Regions from separate parts of the Homo sapiens genome. Here regions 2, 3 and 4 are each linked to region 1. Evidence: promoter capture Hi-C in 16 types of primary human blood cells and fetal thymus (Javierre and others, 2016). All regions are on one chromosome and are shown on one strand. Each heading gives the region's core, a stretch centred on a gene start or on the middle of the fragment in contact. The rest is flanking DNA. Distances are from core to core; before and after follow the strand shown.

Region 1 (4,103 bases), core at 1,087-3,586:
AAGCCACCAGTCTATGGTATTTTGTTATGGCTGCCTTAGCAAACTAATACACCACTTAGTTTGGACTCTGTACAGCAAAACTGTGTCAACAGCAGTCTGTGTTTCTGGTGTCCAGAAGCACTCCTTTCATCTATCCTGTAAAATACTCAGCAGAGTGTCAGAAAACATTTTTGTTAGCTGTATCAGCAAAATGCACACTACAATCTGAGCAATCTATAATGACTACATATTGTTAATGGCAATCACCATTAGCTCTTTATCTTCACACTTACATAAGGTTTCTCATTTAATCTTCTCAACAGCCCTATGAGACAGGTATCATCTCCACTTTACAAATGAGAAAACTGAAGCTTCTCAGAAAGTGAAAAAGAACGTGTGCCACAACTGGGATTTTTTTTTTCGTTGTTGTTATACTAGGATACATGTGCACAACATGCAGGTTTGTTACATAGGTATACATGTGCCATGTTGGTTTGCTGCACCCATCAACTCGACATTTACATTAGGTATTTCTCCTAATGCTATCCCTCCCCCAGGCCCCCACCCCCCTATAACTGGGATTTGAACCCCATTCTGTTATGCTCCAAAGTTTATGCTCTTCCAATCTAGCTACATGGTCTGTCCTTAGAGACACTGACTGCCGGGGTGGGGGGGGAATCCTGGCATCTACTTTGTGAATAAAAATTGTCTGTCTCTGAAATAAGGCAACAGTCAGCATTTTCACTAGGATATATAACAAGAACAGAAGAGCGGAAATGCTTTAAAACACTCTTACACACACATACAAGGCTACCTAGATAAAAAATGGATAACTTATGAGTGTCTTATCCAAACATTTTAAGTTTATAAAAATAAGCAATTCATCAGTGCAATAAGACAGAAAAGTTATTTCACGCAGAAAAATATAACTTAATATTCAAAGACAATTCCTGTCTCCTTAAGCCAATATAGAAATGGACAGAATTTACATTATCTGTATAGACTATAAATATGACCGAGTAAACCAAGAACACTTACCAATCACATTATGTTTTGAACTGAAGGGATCTACAATTGTTTGATCTCTGTAACTTCGAAAACCCTGGATAATCACCTAGTAAATAAAAAACATTTTTGAGAACCCACCCCACAAAAAAAATTAACATTTTTCTCTTGCATTTCTTTCTTGTTTTTCATTTAATGCAATATAGAAAACTCGAAATTTCATATAAGAAAAATTCATTTTGGAAAGTGGTGATTAAAAATCTGCTAAAAAAAAAAAAAGGTACTTTTATCGGTAATCTTTGCCAAGGCAATGCTGCTGGGTTTTATTTTTTTTTAGGAGTTATGCTGTCAACCTGTTAAGGACCTTTCAAAATCAAAAACACTGTGTGAGCTTAACTGAACCCTAAACGCTGCAGTACAATAGCAAGTCTATAAAAGCAGGCCGACGGGCCCCAGCTCTCCTGACTCCAAGACCACCGAGTGCTGCTTTCAGTCACTCACGCCGGCCAGCCTGAAAGAACCCACGTTCCAAAGAAGGAGTGCTCAGAGCCCGACAGACCCAACAGAAAACCGTCTCCAAGGCCGTGTGCCTGGGCTCATCTTTGTGGTGGAGTCCCGCGCGGGAAGACCATTTTGACAGAAGTAAACAACCGAGGGAGGCGGCGCTCCGTATCCTGCAAGCAGGAGGGTCCCGCTCACTTCGCGGGTTAACTGGGGAGAAGAACGGCTCCCCGCAGTGACAGGTGACGACACCCCAGCCAATGCCCCCAGGGCCGCCCCCGGGCCGGGGAAGCCACCTTTCCACACATCCCAGGCACATGGGCCGTGTGAGGCCACCCCTGCAGGACCACACAGCCCTTCCCGCCCGCGGCCGCCCCGGCGGGGTGCCCCCCGCCAGCTCTGGGGCCACCCAGGAAGGCCCAGTCCCTCCCAGCGGCCCGCCCGCCGGCCCTTCCACACCTCTCGGAGATCCTGCCTCTCCCAGACAAGCGCCAGCAGGGAGGCCGGGGCTGCAAAGGAGTGCCCCAATTCTCCGCGACCCCGCAGCCGGGGCACTAGCGGGACCCGGGTCTCCCTCCTCCCCCACAGTCCCCGCCCAGCCCTGGTCCAGCCTGTGGAGACAGGGGAGAGGCTGCGGGTGGCGCCGCAACACTCCCGCCTCAAGGAGCGGCCCTTACCGGCCCATGACGGGGTGGAGGGACGCGAAGGCCTTACCTGCTTTATGTACATGATTCCGGGCCCCTGGCCTGGAAGGAGACCTGCCCCGGAGCAGCAACCGCACGGCCGCAGGGTCAGGTGAGGCGCCTACGCGACCCCTCCCCCAAAGCGCCGCTCGCTCCCCTCAGCCAAACAAAATGGCGGCGCTCGTGGGGGCGGAGTCCGCGCCTCGGACGGAACCACCTTGCAGCCTTCACAGGGCGTAGGAGGAGTCAAGTTCAGGTCTGCTCTTTCTTTTAGGCAAAACCAGTCCTCCACAGCGTTTTTTGGTGGATTTCTTTTGAATCTAGAATTCTGTAGCTAACGCTTTCCTGAGACTTAGTCAAAAGCTTCACTCGGAAAATCTATGACCGTAGGGTTGGTCCGTACCACCTCCGAGCGCGGGGCCAATGGTCGCGTCCACAAAGGGGGAAAGGTTCCGCGCCAAAGCCAAGAGGGAGACTCCGAGGGCCAGTAGCGCCGCGGGCTGTCGGCCACGTGATTCCGCGCTGTTTAAAAAAGCGGACCTCGCGCGCACTGTGCTAGCCTTGGAACACATGGAATGCTGGTGATTCTTGGAATTCTGTGTGCGGAGTCACTGCTGCCCCTTTGTTATCGCTCTCCATAGGAACGTTTACAATCTTAGCACGCCCCAAGCTGGTTACGAATTGCCCACTCGGAGGACAACCCCGAAGGGATTTGTCAATGCTCGAAAATTTGTTTTAATAATGTGATGATTAATTCCGTCGGGAACTGTTTCTGTTCTACCATCTGCTATAAATCTAGGCAGATCTGTACAATTGCAACAAAGATTTAGGTAAGGCTGAAAGCTTTTAATCCACTTTAAAAACAAAAGAAAACAGCCTGAAAGATACTAGGTGCTAGTGGCAACCCTAGGTCTGTCTGATCCTTGTCAGTCTTGGGAGAAAAACATCATTTGTTTAGAAAATGAATCTCTGGGCTGCTCTGAAATTACTTGCTGGGAAGAGAACAAAATAACTACCCAAATCATCCCCAGCCCCACCCCCGCCCGCTGCTGGAGACAATTCTGGCCCTAATTATTTCTAGATTGAACTATTTTTAGTAGCCTCCTAACTGCCTCTGCTAACCAGGGTATCTCCCTAGGAGTCCTTTATCTGGAGCCCGGATCAAATCCTATCCAGCCCTTGGTTTAAAAAAATAAATAGGCCTGGTCGAGTGGCTCAAGCGTGTAATCCCAGCACTTTGGGAGGCTGAGGGGGGAGGATCACCTGAGGTCACGAGTTCAAGACCAGCCTGGCCAGCATGGCGAAACCCCCGTCTCTACTCGAAATACAAAAATTAGCTGGGCGTCGTGGCGGGTGCCTGTAATCCCAGTTAGTCGGGAGGCTGGGGCAGGAGAATTGCTTGAATCCAGGAGGCAGAGGTTGCAGTGAGCCAAGATCGCGCCACTGCACTCCAGCCTGGGCAACAGAGCGAGACTGTCTCAAAATAAATTAAATAAATATGTAAGCATTTTCTTTTCTTTATTTCTAACTTTTTTTTTTTTTTTTGACAGGATCTTGCTCTGTCACCCAGGGTGGAGCTGGAGCATAGTGGCTCGGTCATGGTTCACTGCAGCCTCAAACTCCTGGGTTCAAGCCATCCTCCCACCTCAGCCTACAGGCTGTGGCCACCAAGCCCAGCTTTTTTTTGTTTTTGTAGAGACCAGGTCTCCTTATGTTGCCCAGGCTGGTCTCTAACTTCTGGCCTCAAGCGATCCTCCCACCTCTGCCTCCCTAAATGCTGGGATTACAGGAATGAGCCACTGCACTCAATCTAAACATTTTACTTCTAGATTTTAGTTGTATTATTTAAAGCTTAGGACAGGTATGGTGGTTCACGCCTGTAATCCCAGCACTTTGGGAGGCCCAGGTGGGTGGATCACTTGAGGTCAGGAGTTT
Region 2 (4,103 bases), core at 527-3,026, 310 kb before region 1:
TGTCACAAAAAATGTAAACTTTTTTTTTTTTTTTTTTGAGACAGCGTGTCGCTCTGTCACCCAGGCTGGAGTGCAGTGGTGCAATCTCAGCTCACTGCAAGCTCTGCCTCCCGGGTTCACGCCATTCTCCTGCCCCAGCTGGGACTACAGATGCCTGCCACTACGCCTGGCTAATTTTTTTGTGTTTTTAGTACAGATGGGGTCACCGTGTTAGCCAGGATGGTCTTGATCTCCTGACCTCGTGATCCACCTACGTCGGCCTCCCAAAGTGCTGGGATTACAGGCGTGAGCCACCGCACCCAGCCAAAATGTAAACTCTTTACCTTGTAACTTAAGGTCCTTTATGATCTTGCCCCTGCTTACCTCACCAGAATCACTGCTAACTACTCCCACACTCAAATTGTCAGAGCTTAAGTTAGATATCATAGGGAAGAGATGGGAGGGATTCATTTGGCAGAAGAATACTGAGTATATTACAAAAAGAGAAAGTATAAAGTAGGAAACCGCTAAGAAAATGCTTCAGTAATTCAGTCACAAGCTAACTGGTAAAGAGCAAGGGTAGTAACTGTGGGATAAATAATAATGTTACACTTTTAAAGAAAATAATGAAGGACTTTTAAGCAGAATGTATCTAGGATTAAAGAGAAGTCAAACAATGCCTTAAAAGTTTTCAAACTGGTAAGAAGCCGGTGTTAGGATGGTGTGTTTGGGACATCATCATAACCATCAGTAGTAATTATAGTCTTAGTGGAAGTAGTCGTAGTACTGTTTCTTTCATCATTACCATTACTATTGTCATCTATTAGATACCAGGTTCCACACTACCTGGTACCTATTAGATTCCACACTACCTGGTACCTATTAGCTAAGGCACTTTACATATGTGGTCTATAAGCTTCAAGAGCTCTAGAAAGAAACTGTTTATCCTCATTTTACAGAAGGAATGTGTTTCACAAGAAGTTACATATCTAGAAAGGATTATGGCTAGAATTCAAACCCACATTTTTAATCCCATATAACTACAGAAAATACAAAACTAGAATACAGCAGAGTATTGACAGCTAAAGAGACGAACAAGGGCGTGAATGTAAAGAGAGATAAACAAAAATGATTAAGTGGAAGGGGACAGAAAGATCAGGATCACATAAATTAGATGACATTTTCGTGTAAGAGTGGATGGTTGAGAAAAACATTAAACATCTACCTGTAACATAGTGCTTTCATCATTGTGCCATTAAGGTGAACCACAAAACTGGTCCAGAAGACACAGGAGTCAGAACTATAATAAAATGTCTTAAACTGTCCCTTGGAGTATTCAATTTAAATACATCTATTTCCCATAATCGAGTTTTCTTTTCTTCAACAATTTTAACATCCTTTCAAGTATGTTTGTGTCTCTGCAGCAGTAAACATTCTCTCAGTATAATTTATATATTTGACCTTATCATTTTTAACCCATGTTTGTATTAATTGCTTTATATTTTGTTACTCATACTCACCTAACTGTTGGAGTTCCATAACCCCTATTGAGCTGACTTTAAGAAAACCAAAATTAAAATGATAAGCTGAGTACAGAATGTGATTGACTTCAAAATTGTTTCCTACTGTGTACTAATTCCCTCTTTCTGAATTCTGATATCTCAATAGTAACCACTCCAATTGTATATGACCACAGCACCAGAAAATCACATTTTCAATTACTGGTGTCCAATGAGTGGCATAATTAGAATAACATTACCACACTTTCATGTATTACATACCTAGTATGTGCTTCACAGACTTAACACACATATACAATATCTCACTAAATCCTAATTATAAATCTATACAGAGGGTATTTATATCCCAATTTTATACATGAAAAAACTGAAGGTCAGAATAACCTACTTCCTCCAAGTAAAAGAGTAAGAGTGTGACTTGGACTATTTGCTATGTGAAGAATTTACTACAAAGAGGGTCTATCTTAGGCCTATTCAAATATTGAAGAACAAGTCTTTTATTTTAAAGCAGTGCTGGACACAAGCACCAAGAACAGGGTTAGAACTAGGTCTTATTGTAGTTAGGAAACAAAAAGTACACATTTTAAAGCTGTGTTTCTATTTCTAATAGAAATAGAATGCAAGCCATATAAGAAATTTTAAATTTTCCAGTAGCCACATTAAAAAGTAAAAACAGGTGAAATTAATTTAAATATATTTTATTTAATCTAATATAACCATATCATCTCAACATGCAAGCAATATAACAAATTATTGAGATAGTTGACCTTCATCTCAACTCAGAGTAGCCACATTTCAAGTACTCAACAAACACATGTGGCTAAGCACAGTGGTGCACACGCCTGTAATCCAGCTACTGAGGAGGCTGAAGAGGGAGGATCACTTGAGCCCAGGAGTAATAACCACATGTAGCTAGTGGTCACCATACTGGACAGTGCAGAAAAGAAGCAATTACCTATATGTAAAATATATTCTAAACTGTATTACCATCCCCATCTCAATTAAGTAGGTACATATTATCCATTTATAACCCTAAAGCATACTCATACAGCTATTGTATACAGCAGCACAGAAATGATCATTAATTACATAAATTTTTTTCAATTTTTTACCATACTTTAAAAAGATCTGTAAATAAACAATGGTAAAGAAGCTTCAAATTCAACATGTTTGTTCAGATCAAAGAAAACTATGTACATTGTAAACAATAGTGAGTTAAGTCACTGAGGAAAGAAAGATGTAGTATTTAGTTACGAAATACACTTAAAATGACAGAAAATAGCTTTCAATATTAATAAAATTATAAGACAAAGAATTATCCAAAGTATACCAATATGAACTGTTCTCACTATTCAGATATTACACAATTCTAATTAACTTTTTGGGAGATTATTTTTAAAACTATAAATACATTTTAAATTATCTTGAGTTACTCACATTTGGTCATCTATTCCACAAAACTGTTCATTTTTATGATAATAACATGCTATTGAAGCACCATGGAGAATTAGGGAAAATACCCTAGGTAATTTAGAATATAAAAATTATTTGTTAGGAAAGATACCAAAGATACCAGTAAGTTTATATTACAGAAATCACTAACTAGCCCATGTGAAAATAAGCAGGCTCACTATTCTTCTCTATTCTGTACTATATAACAGAGAATAGGAATATGTGGAATGTGAAAGGATAGGCAGAAAAATAGGACATGTAATGAATTTCCATGAAAATAAAAATCACAAACTTGACTTTAAAAATAATATAGCCTGTTTTCTTACAGCATGAATAAAAGAGTATTTAAAGATAGTTTTTCTATCATGTTTTTATAAAATATGGAATGGTCTGAAGCTTCCTCACAACATAGTCAAGCTTCAAGATATTTCAGCCTAGGCAACATAGTGAAATCCTATCTCTACAAAAAATAAAAAATTAGCCTGGTGTGGTGGCACACACCTGTTGTCCCAGCTGCTGAGGAGGCTGAGATAGGGGAGGATCTCTTAAGCCCAGGAAAGTCAAAACTGCAGTGAGCCATGATCACACCACTGCACTCCAGCCTGGGTGACAGAGCAAGATCCTGTCTCAAAACGAAGAAAAAAAGAAAAAAGGATATCCTTACTTACCTGCAGGGTTTACATTCAGTATCTGCTCATTTTCTACATCCATTTTCCCTTAATTTCGCTTGCACTGATTAAACAAATTACCTAATGGAAATCTTCCTTCAGAATCTGTTTTTTTAAAAGAAAAAAAGAAAGCTTCAAGATCTTTTAAACTGATGTAATTAAGCTGAATTAAACTTACTTAAGCACACTGTAAAAACAAACGACAACAACAAAAAACACACAATTCCATTAAATAAAACAGTTCACTTTACTTTCAAAGACAACTTACCCTAATTAACATTTGGTTCCAATCTTTTTGATAAATTTATCAAAGTCAAAAAAAAAAATCCCAGATTTCAGCATGTGCCAAAGCACCCCTTTAATTGGAATTAAAAGATATGTTTGTGATACATGTTTACGTCAAGTTAAAGAAATACACACATCCAAATCTTTTAGGAATACCAAGCCTCAAAATTAATCTGATATACATACATAGGAATATAAA
Region 3 (4,103 bases), core at 487-2,986, 300 kb after region 1:
TCTTATAAAATAATCAAATAGAAATATTAACAAGTGGTATAATAAAGCTGCAAATTCTACAAATTACATATAATATATAATATAATAATATAAATTATTCTGTCACATTGTCAGCCTCAGCATGAAAGGGCTTATCTGTATACAAATAAGAATTAAAATGGTTGAGATGCATGTTACTTATTCTTGGGAGACTTTTTAAAACCACTTTCTTTCAATAAAATATAAATAGTTCTTAGCATAGGCTATATATACCTCTAGAGGTATTCAACACTGAGCCAGAGGATATTTGAAGCCACAGGGTTATACTATCCTTTCCAGAAGTCATAATTTTTTCAAAAATTTGGAAGAAAAATATTTTATATAAAAACAAACACAGATAATGCAAAATGTGTTTTTAAAAGAAGACTTCAAATTTCATATTATTTCAGACAGGTTGAGTATTCCTTATGTGAAATGCTTAGGACCAGAAATGTTTTGGATTTCTCATTTTTTCAGATTTTGGAATATTTGCATTATACTCAGCTGAGCATCCCAAATCCAAAAATCCTAAGTCTGATATGCTCCAATGAGCATTTCTGTTGAGAGTCATGTTGACACTCAAAATGTTTCAGATTTTGGAGCATTTCAGATTTGTGGACTTGGGATGCTCAACCTGTACTACATCCCAGGGCCTCCAGGAATCTATGTTCAAACTGCTACAGCAAATCACAACACATCACTATGGACTTTGGAACATCATTTTTGACTCATGGCTGGGATTATGTCTCTCAAAGGTTTGGAGAGGGAAAAAGAAGGGACAGGGGAGAAGGGAGAGAAGATATGGAAGAGAGAGGAAAGGGAGATGTAAATTAATGATGACAAAATAGTCACATATTCTTTCTCAAACTACACAGATACCACATAGGCTGAAATGTCATTTAGTCTTTACAACTCAGAAATATGAAGAACATGAAGTGCCACTCAGTCAATAACAATTATCATCAGTAAACAATAGTGCCTTATTATACCACTGAGCTAAATGCTATAACGATTTTTCAAGTTGTCAGTAGTATAATCTTTACCTGTTTGAAGACTATAATTTAGTCCTCTGCCTACCACCTTTCCAGCCTCATTTCCCATAACTCATACCCTTGCAAACCTCTTCCATAACCAAATGTGCTTTTATACTTGCCAATATCTCTACCTGGAATGCATTCTCTCCAAATGTCCACCTGGTGGGCATCTAACTCATTTTCAGGCCATGGCCAAACAATTTCTTCCACAAGATCATCCTTGCCATACTCCTTCCTCAGATGATACTTGATTTCATACTAATCACACTGTATTTCAATTGAGAGTGAATCCATACTTTTAGTCATTTCTGTTTTTCAAATAAACAGAATGACTGGCACACAGTGGGGAGGAGAGATGTAATACTTCTAGTGGATGTTTCTGGGACTCTCTAACTCACCAAAGTTGAGGTAACAATCAACACCAGGACCTCCAAACAGTATAATCAGATGCCAGGCCAGCATTTGTGAGAGATCTATTTATGAATGCCAGAACTCTTAACCTTTTTTTTTTCTGGTGCAGCTGAAATCACCAGCAAATGTTAATAAGGTGCATACCACCAAAGATGTCTACATGTAGAGTAACCAACAGTCTCCAACCTAACTCTTGATGAGAGTCAACACTTTTTTTTTTTTTTGAGACGTAGTTTCACTCTGTTGCCCAAGCTGGAGTGCAGTGGCGCGATCTCGGCTCACTGCAACCTCCGCCTCCCAGGCTCAAGCAATTATCCTGCCTCAGCCTCCTGAGTAGCTGGGATTACAGGCATGTGCCACCAAGCCTAATTTTTTTTTATTTTATTTTACTAGAGACGGGGTTTCACCATATTGCCCAGGGTGGTTTCGGACTCCTGAGCTCAGGCAATCTGCCCGCCTCGGCCTCCCAAAGTGCTAGGATTATAGGCATGAGCCACCGCAACCGGCCAACACCTTTTTTAATAGTGAAGCAAAGGGTTTAAGAACTGCAGCTTTTACAACAGAATGACTTTATCAAAGTATTTACAGTGAAAGGGGCCTAGGACTAGGAAAACAAACAGCTAAGAAAACCAAGGTATGAGAAGGGAAAGTCTAAAAAGCAATATTCCACAATGCAAAGAAGAAAAAAATTAAGTCAACAGTTCTTAATCCCATGTAATAAATGAGAAACTAGTGTATGCTTACCAGATCCATGGACTGCTTGCTAAGTTGAAGACTATAGTGCAGAACATATAAACAACTATTTTTTTTAATTATCCTGCATTCATGTCTAAGGAAGACTTCATTTTTGACAGCCTCATTTGAAAAAAAAAAAAATAATTAAATCTTGTTCCAGAGGCATTTGTTCTTCACTGGAACTCCCACAAGGAACCCAAACTCCAAAGTGATTTAACAGAAATTGCTCACTTGACATCCATTCTGTGCTAAATTTAGTTTCTATGCATACTTCCCCTCTCTTATCTGTTTATAAGGATTTAGTTAAAAAGAAAAACTTGATCATTCATTCACCATATTTCTTCTTTGGTCACACAAGAACTTTCTGTATTCCAAGTTTCAAAGTCTGGGAAATAGGGCTACATCACTGGAGAAAACAGTGGCAATTTGTTCTAAATACAAAATAGCTTATTTTCCTTTGGCAACTTTCCAGGGGTCTGGGTAGAGGGAAGGGATACTCCTCTCTAGAGAGATCAGGCTCTGAACCTGGACTACTGTCAAAACTTAGCCATCGATGGGAGAGAATATTTTTTAATTATCTTTCACATCAATTTGGAAACTGATTAAAGATTTTTGCCTTATTAACAGTTTTTCTACTCTTTGGCCTTTTGTTGGTGTTCATCTCTATTCTGGCAGCCCCCATTGGCTGATTTAATGGTACCAAGGGGCTGAGAAGTGTTGCTGTCCAAAAGAAAAAGCATTCTCTCACAGGGACTGGGAAGGCAATCTGCAATCACAACAGTAGCTACTTGTTAACTTTCTATTTGAAACACAGTGATGTCAATAGTATTGTACCCTGCCAGCCACCATGGGGTAAAGTACATTTTGAAACCAAAACAAACTTCCTACGTGCTGGCAAGTGAGATCTGAGACGCAGTGATAATGTTCTACAAGACACTGACCTAATTTTATGTACAAAATGCAAGAATTAAGTCTTCTCTTCTACAAAAGTTTAAGTCTAACTCTCACAGCTCTATTCCCACCCAGAGCCCAGTGTAACTGCTTTATTGTATCAAATTATTGTCCAGGATGGAAGAGGGAAATGACGAAATACTGTTACTGATCTCTAATTAAAATGGTGATCTTACATAGCACAAAACAGCACATTTAAAGAATGCTTTGTAATATAGCTGTTCATCTAGAAGCAGAAAATGAAAATAGCAAAGCACCTTTAAAAGTGGCCCTACTAATAAGATGTGAGTTGTATAATAGCTCATTTTAAGGGGAATATTCATATAGGAGGAAAGACATTTTATTAAATGGAACAGGAACAATCTGGCCCAAGAATTAATTCATCCCTGGAAGGCGAATATTCATAATTTGTACTGAATATGAGCAACCTGAAATAGAGAGCTAAACGATTAAAAGTGGTAACCATGCTTACTACTGGCAGATGGCAAATGGTTTGGCATTGCTGGACATCTGCCAATCCAGTCAAGCCAGCCAGGAATTATTTTTAAAGTCCCATTTTAGAACAATTTTCCCAAAATCAAAATGCAGTTTGTTTTTTGGTGAGGAGGAGATAAAATTTGCAGTAGAAAAAGGGTAACAAAGAGGAATTGTTGGCCAGTGTGTATGTGTGTATGTGTTGTTGTTGTTGTTAATAACTGAAGCATTTACAGGCCATTTGCAACCTCTGGAAAAATAAAATTTACAGAATTTAAAATACGCCATAGTCCCTGATAATAATAGAGAATCAATGTTTTGGTATGTCTTTTTATTTCTAAATTACTTAACTGTTTTGACCTCTCTTTCATTATACTGTATCACTTTTTTTTTTTCCTGACCACAAAGGGCCCAACTGAAGAGTAGTTTTTGAGAGTAACTTTTGGAGGCAGCCTAGCATAACACAACACCTGGCACCAA
Region 4 (4,103 bases), core at 958-3,457, 280 kb after region 1:
ATAAAAGTTTGACTTTGGAAATGAAGAAAAATTACCTTTTAGCCTAATCATGAAGACTAGGCGTCAAACCAAAACAAGATGCATCAGTTACTGTAGCAACACATTTTTTTTAAAAAATTGCTTGTTGTCACAATGAAGGGTGTGTGTCTGTTTCCAGTATGCAATTCTAATGCCAAATGTCTGCCTTAAAAATAGCAAAGGAGACCATCAGGTTAACATAAAGGAAAACTGTAGTTGTGTGACTCATGTGTCTGTAGATTGTAATTTTATAATTACAATTTTTATAAGATAAAAAACTACCAGTTGTAAATTCAACCAAAAAAAATTTAAAGCTTTGATTTAGCTTTTTGCTTTAACTTGGGTAGTAACTGAAATATAAAGGAAGAAAATCTATTAAAACCAATGAGGTTTTATATTTTTTTAAATCTTGATTCAATAAATATCAGCTGAATTAAGTATCTGTATGGTACTACGAAGCAATCAATTAGTATAAATGGCAATTTACAAGTTCAACAGTAAATGTAAACATTCTTTGTATCTAGGATTTTTGAGTTGCAAGTTAAACTGAATTTTTACTGCAGTAGAGAGGAGGAGCATAGCAGGCAAAATAACAGGTAATACTGTATTTTAAACAAACAGAAAAACCCAAGTAATTGGCGCCCTTTATCCAATCATCTTTTAAAAGGCCTATGTATGTGTATAGTTATGTTCTTAAGAAACATCTTAAGAGGTTCAGAAATCAATTTTATAGATGGAACATTTTAATAATTCGTTTTGGCCTAGCCAAAAGAGTAAAATAAAACAAAATAGTGTTAGATTTCTGTGAGGTGTTTTAATTGCCTTTTCTGCCTTTTAACTTATGTATATAAAGGTGGTTCTTTTGTGGCCTTGATTGGGGTAAAGCAGAACTGAGAATAATAGGGGTTTGTAGTAGTTGACAGCTGAACTAGCTAAAAATACGAAGTTTTGGATATTTAATTAATCTTTCAGTTCCCAGGCAACAAAAACTGGAAACTTAGTTCCACCACACACCTTACCAGTTCATTTAAAACAAAACCAGTATAGTCACTGGAATTATTTAAACTGTAATTTGTTTCTCCACTTAGTCTTTTTTAAGAATACGGCTGAAAGAGCCATGGTGATAATCATTAGGAGAGAAGGTTGGCATTTTGTTTGAAGAGCTACTTTCTCAACTTGGGGCTGAAAGTTATGGTTGTTGTTTGCTGGCTCAGGATTTACCTTTCTTGGTAAAACTGATGTGCTTTTGTTTTTTCCCCTTTCAAGCCCTGTACTTACTTTAGCAAGATGCAGTGAATTTCTGACCAGAGAAACAAAGAATTCAGGCTTGGAGGAAACACTTGACTCCATATCCTGGGAAACTAGAGTTGAAGCCTGAGATCTGAAGCTAGGCTAGTAATCACTTTAATAGATGGTAACTGTCCAAATGTTCATTGTTCAGAAGTAGCAGGAAGGAGTAAGTATCCCTTTAATTCTTTTGCCTGGAGTTTTTCCCTCCAAAATCGCCCCTCAGGTTTAGTTGACCTAGCTTTCTAAGTGTGATGAAGCTACTAATTTAGAAACGACTGATCTTAAATGTATATTCTTCTTATAATTTTAGAGGTACTTTTATAGGTTTTGTTATATTTTTACAGTGCTATTCTGTGCCCTGGTGTGAGCATCTGAAATAAGTATCTCAATTATTACCCTACCAATAAAGATTTTTAAAGCATTCCCCATGGCAAAGAGCTATGAGCTTGAGGATATGGAAAAAATTCCAAAACTACAGTAAGTTAGTTGGCAGTATCTTAAAAGAACTTCATTTAAAGCCATTTTCTCTAATTTATGACTGTATAGAAAGGTAAAACAACAGGAAGTGAAGTTTTCAGCCAGTACATTTATTTTGAACTACGCTGCCTATTTAAAACAATCTGACATATTCCACAAGAAAACCAGTTTCCTATTAGTTCTGATACATAGGAAAGGAGATAGCTGCTGATTGTCTTTTCTTGGCAAAGTCAGCACTAAATACTGACCTAGGGCACATTATTATCAGTGTATAATATGTTCAACTTGAGATTAGTCCTTTTTCTTTTTTCTAGAAAGACCAACTAATCACTAAAACTGATGCTGCATTAATCTTATAAAGCCTTCATTTAAGAAATTCTATAGGAGGCTGGGTGCAGTGGCTCACACCTGTAATCTCAGCACTTCGGGAGGCCAAGGTGGGCGGATCACATAAGGCCAGGAGTTCGAGACCAGCCTGACCAACATGGTGAAATGCCCTCTCTACTAACAAATACAAAAATTAGCCGGGTGTGGTGGCACATGCCATAGTCCCAGCCACTCAGGAGGCTGAGGCAGGAGAATTGCTTGAACCCAAAAGGTGGAGGTTGCAGTGAGCCGAGGTCACACCACTGCACTACAGCCTGGGTGACAGAAAGAAATTCTATAGGAAATAAAAAATAACTACTTTATGTTAAAGTATTACCTACCATGGAATTTTAAGTGAACCAATATTTAGGAACAGTCTTTTTCTGTAAGATCTGGAGTCAAAGTAACTAAAATTCAGGATTAAGGATGCATTAAAAGGTTGCATTCATCAGAGAAACTAGAGAAATACACCCCTTTTAATTTCCTTAGTGCTACATCTTCCTAGATGGCAGTCAGGGAGTGGGGTGGTAGTTTATATATATCAGCTTAAATCCTTACAACCCTTCAAGATAGAGGTAGTACTTATAATAGCTTTTCAGGAAGAAAAGGGCTCCATGAAGAAATCAAGCAACTTAACTAGGGTCAGCAATGTTGGAACTGGGATTACAGTGTAATTAAAACACTTGCTTTTCCCACACTTTACTGTTCTGGGTTAACTGTTGGGAACCTGATTTTGGTCAGCAACTTTGCCTCAATAATCCTCACTGCCTCTTAAAATTCCTTCATAATGCTAAAAGCAGTCATTGTCAGGGAGATTAGAAAGGCATTTCTGTAGGAGTTCTCATACCTATTCTAACCAGAAACTTGAGTTGCAGTGACTTCAGAATCCTCTAGTCATAACGCGCTACAGTAGGTTTTACCTGTACCTTTTTGAGACGGAGTCTCGCTCTGCTGCCCAGGCTGGAGTGCAGTGGCTCGATCTCAGCTCACTGCAGCCTCCGCCTCCCAGGTTCAAGATTCTCCTGCCTCAGCCTCCTGAGTAGCTGGGACTACAGGTGCATGCCACCACGCCCAGCTAATTTTTCGTATTTTTTTTTTTAGTGGATAACGGAATTTCATCATGTTGGCCAGGGTGGTTTCAAACTCCTGACCTCAAGTGATCTGCGCACCTCTGCCTTCCAAAGTGCTGGGATTACAGGTGTGAGCCATTGCACCTGGCCTACCTGTACCTTTTAATATAAATGTCACTCAGGTGTTCTATAAATAGGGTACCCTAAATAAGATTAGTGGAACTTCCAGACTTGTTTGCAATTTGAATAATAGTGTAGCTAAAGGATGCTCCCAAAAGTTATTTAGAGAACAGATCATGAGAATGGCTTTGTGTCCTACCTGAGGCAGTTAATATTATTATTAATGTGGCACATTAAACCACATGCAGTTAGGTTATATGGAGTTACCAGTCAGGCTCCTGTTTAAATTGCAGAACAGGAATGGCAATTATAATTCAAACTGCCATTTGATTTGGCATTGATACTGATTTGGTATCAACAGACATTTAGGAGATAGTTACCTCTTAAGGTGTGGATACCCATTCATGTTTTTGCCTTCATAAAGAAGGATGGTACAAAAAGAAAGGTATTCTTCGTTCACAGTTTTTATTTCTTCCAATTAACTTTTGTGTCTTCAAAGTTGATTTGTCTTTTAAAAAATTAATACTTCTTACTCATACAATCTACACCACCCCAAGGAAAACAAACCCAGGGAAGGGTAATTTAGGGGGCAGTTAAAATGTGCACTATAGGTTTATAACAAATGCTTTCCAGCCCATAATCCTGTACATATGCAACAAAATGGCACCTCAAGTTCATCTGAATGAAGGCCCAAATAATGCAAGCGAAGGCCATGAGAATAACAAAACAAACAGAAGCTTAGTCACTGGCTTCATTCACTTT

The links. The method cuts DNA at HindIII sites, captures the fragments that hold promoters and counts their contacts. A CHiCAGO score of 5 or more calls a contact.
Region 2: a fragment that was not itself captured here is called in contact with the fragment with the promoter of SMC3 in region 1 in 8 of 17 cell types (fetal thymus, erythroblasts, total B cells and 5 more); the score reaches 9.1 in fetal thymus.
Region 3: a contact is called between a fragment that was not itself captured here and the fragment with the promoter of SMC3 in region 1, in 1 of 17 cell types (total CD4 T cells). The highest score is 6.4, in total CD4 T cells.
Region 4: a contact is called between a fragment that was not itself captured here and the fragment with the promoter of SMC3 in region 1, in 17 of 17 cell types (total CD8 T cells, total CD4 T cells, neutrophils and 14 more). The highest score is 14.8, in total CD8 T cells.

Annotation. Positions count from the first base shown.
Region 1 is chr10:110,565,928-110,570,030 of GRCh38, reverse strand. SMC3 (structural maintenance of chromosomes 3) reads right to left here and starts at 2,336. Exons shown (of 29, transcript NM_005445.4): 1 at 2,200-2,336; 2 at 1,018-1,093. The coding sequence starts at 2,214. It overlaps LOC105378483 (a long non-coding RNA gene), which reads left to right and starts at 2,723. Exons shown (of 2, transcript XR_946318.2): 1 at 2,723-2,998. RefSeq lists a silencer at 1,727-2,016 and enhancers at 2,357-2,456, 2,467-2,516, 3,331-4,033. The HindIII fragment of the contact is 2,181 bases long and covers 353-2,533 here.
Region 2 is chr10:110,875,587-110,879,689 of GRCh38, reverse strand. PDCD4 (programmed cell death 4) reads right to left here. Exons shown (of 12, transcript NM_014456.5): 2 at 3,620-3,724. The coding sequence starts at 3,662. Among named protein-coding and RNA genes, the nearest start is that of PDCD4, 5.7 kb to the right of the region's middle. The HindIII fragment of the contact is 1,757 bases long and covers 898-2,654 here.
Region 3 is chr10:110,268,676-110,272,778 of GRCh38, reverse strand. The region is part of intron 3 of MXI1 (MAX interactor 1, dimerization protein); the gene reads right to left. Among named protein-coding and RNA genes, the nearest start is that of SMNDC1, 34 kb to the left of the region's middle. The HindIII fragment of the contact is 8,320 bases long and covers 1-4,103 here.
Region 4 is chr10:110,287,052-110,291,154 of GRCh38, reverse strand. MXI1 (MAX interactor 1, dimerization protein) reads right to left here. Exons shown (of 6, transcript NM_130439.3): 6 at 3,790-4,103. SMNDC1 (survival motor neuron domain containing 1) reads left to right here. Exons shown (of 6, transcript NM_005871.4): 6 at 1-425. Among named protein-coding and RNA genes, the nearest start is that of SMNDC1, 16 kb to the left of the region's middle. The HindIII fragment of the contact is 3,746 bases long and covers 335-4,080 here.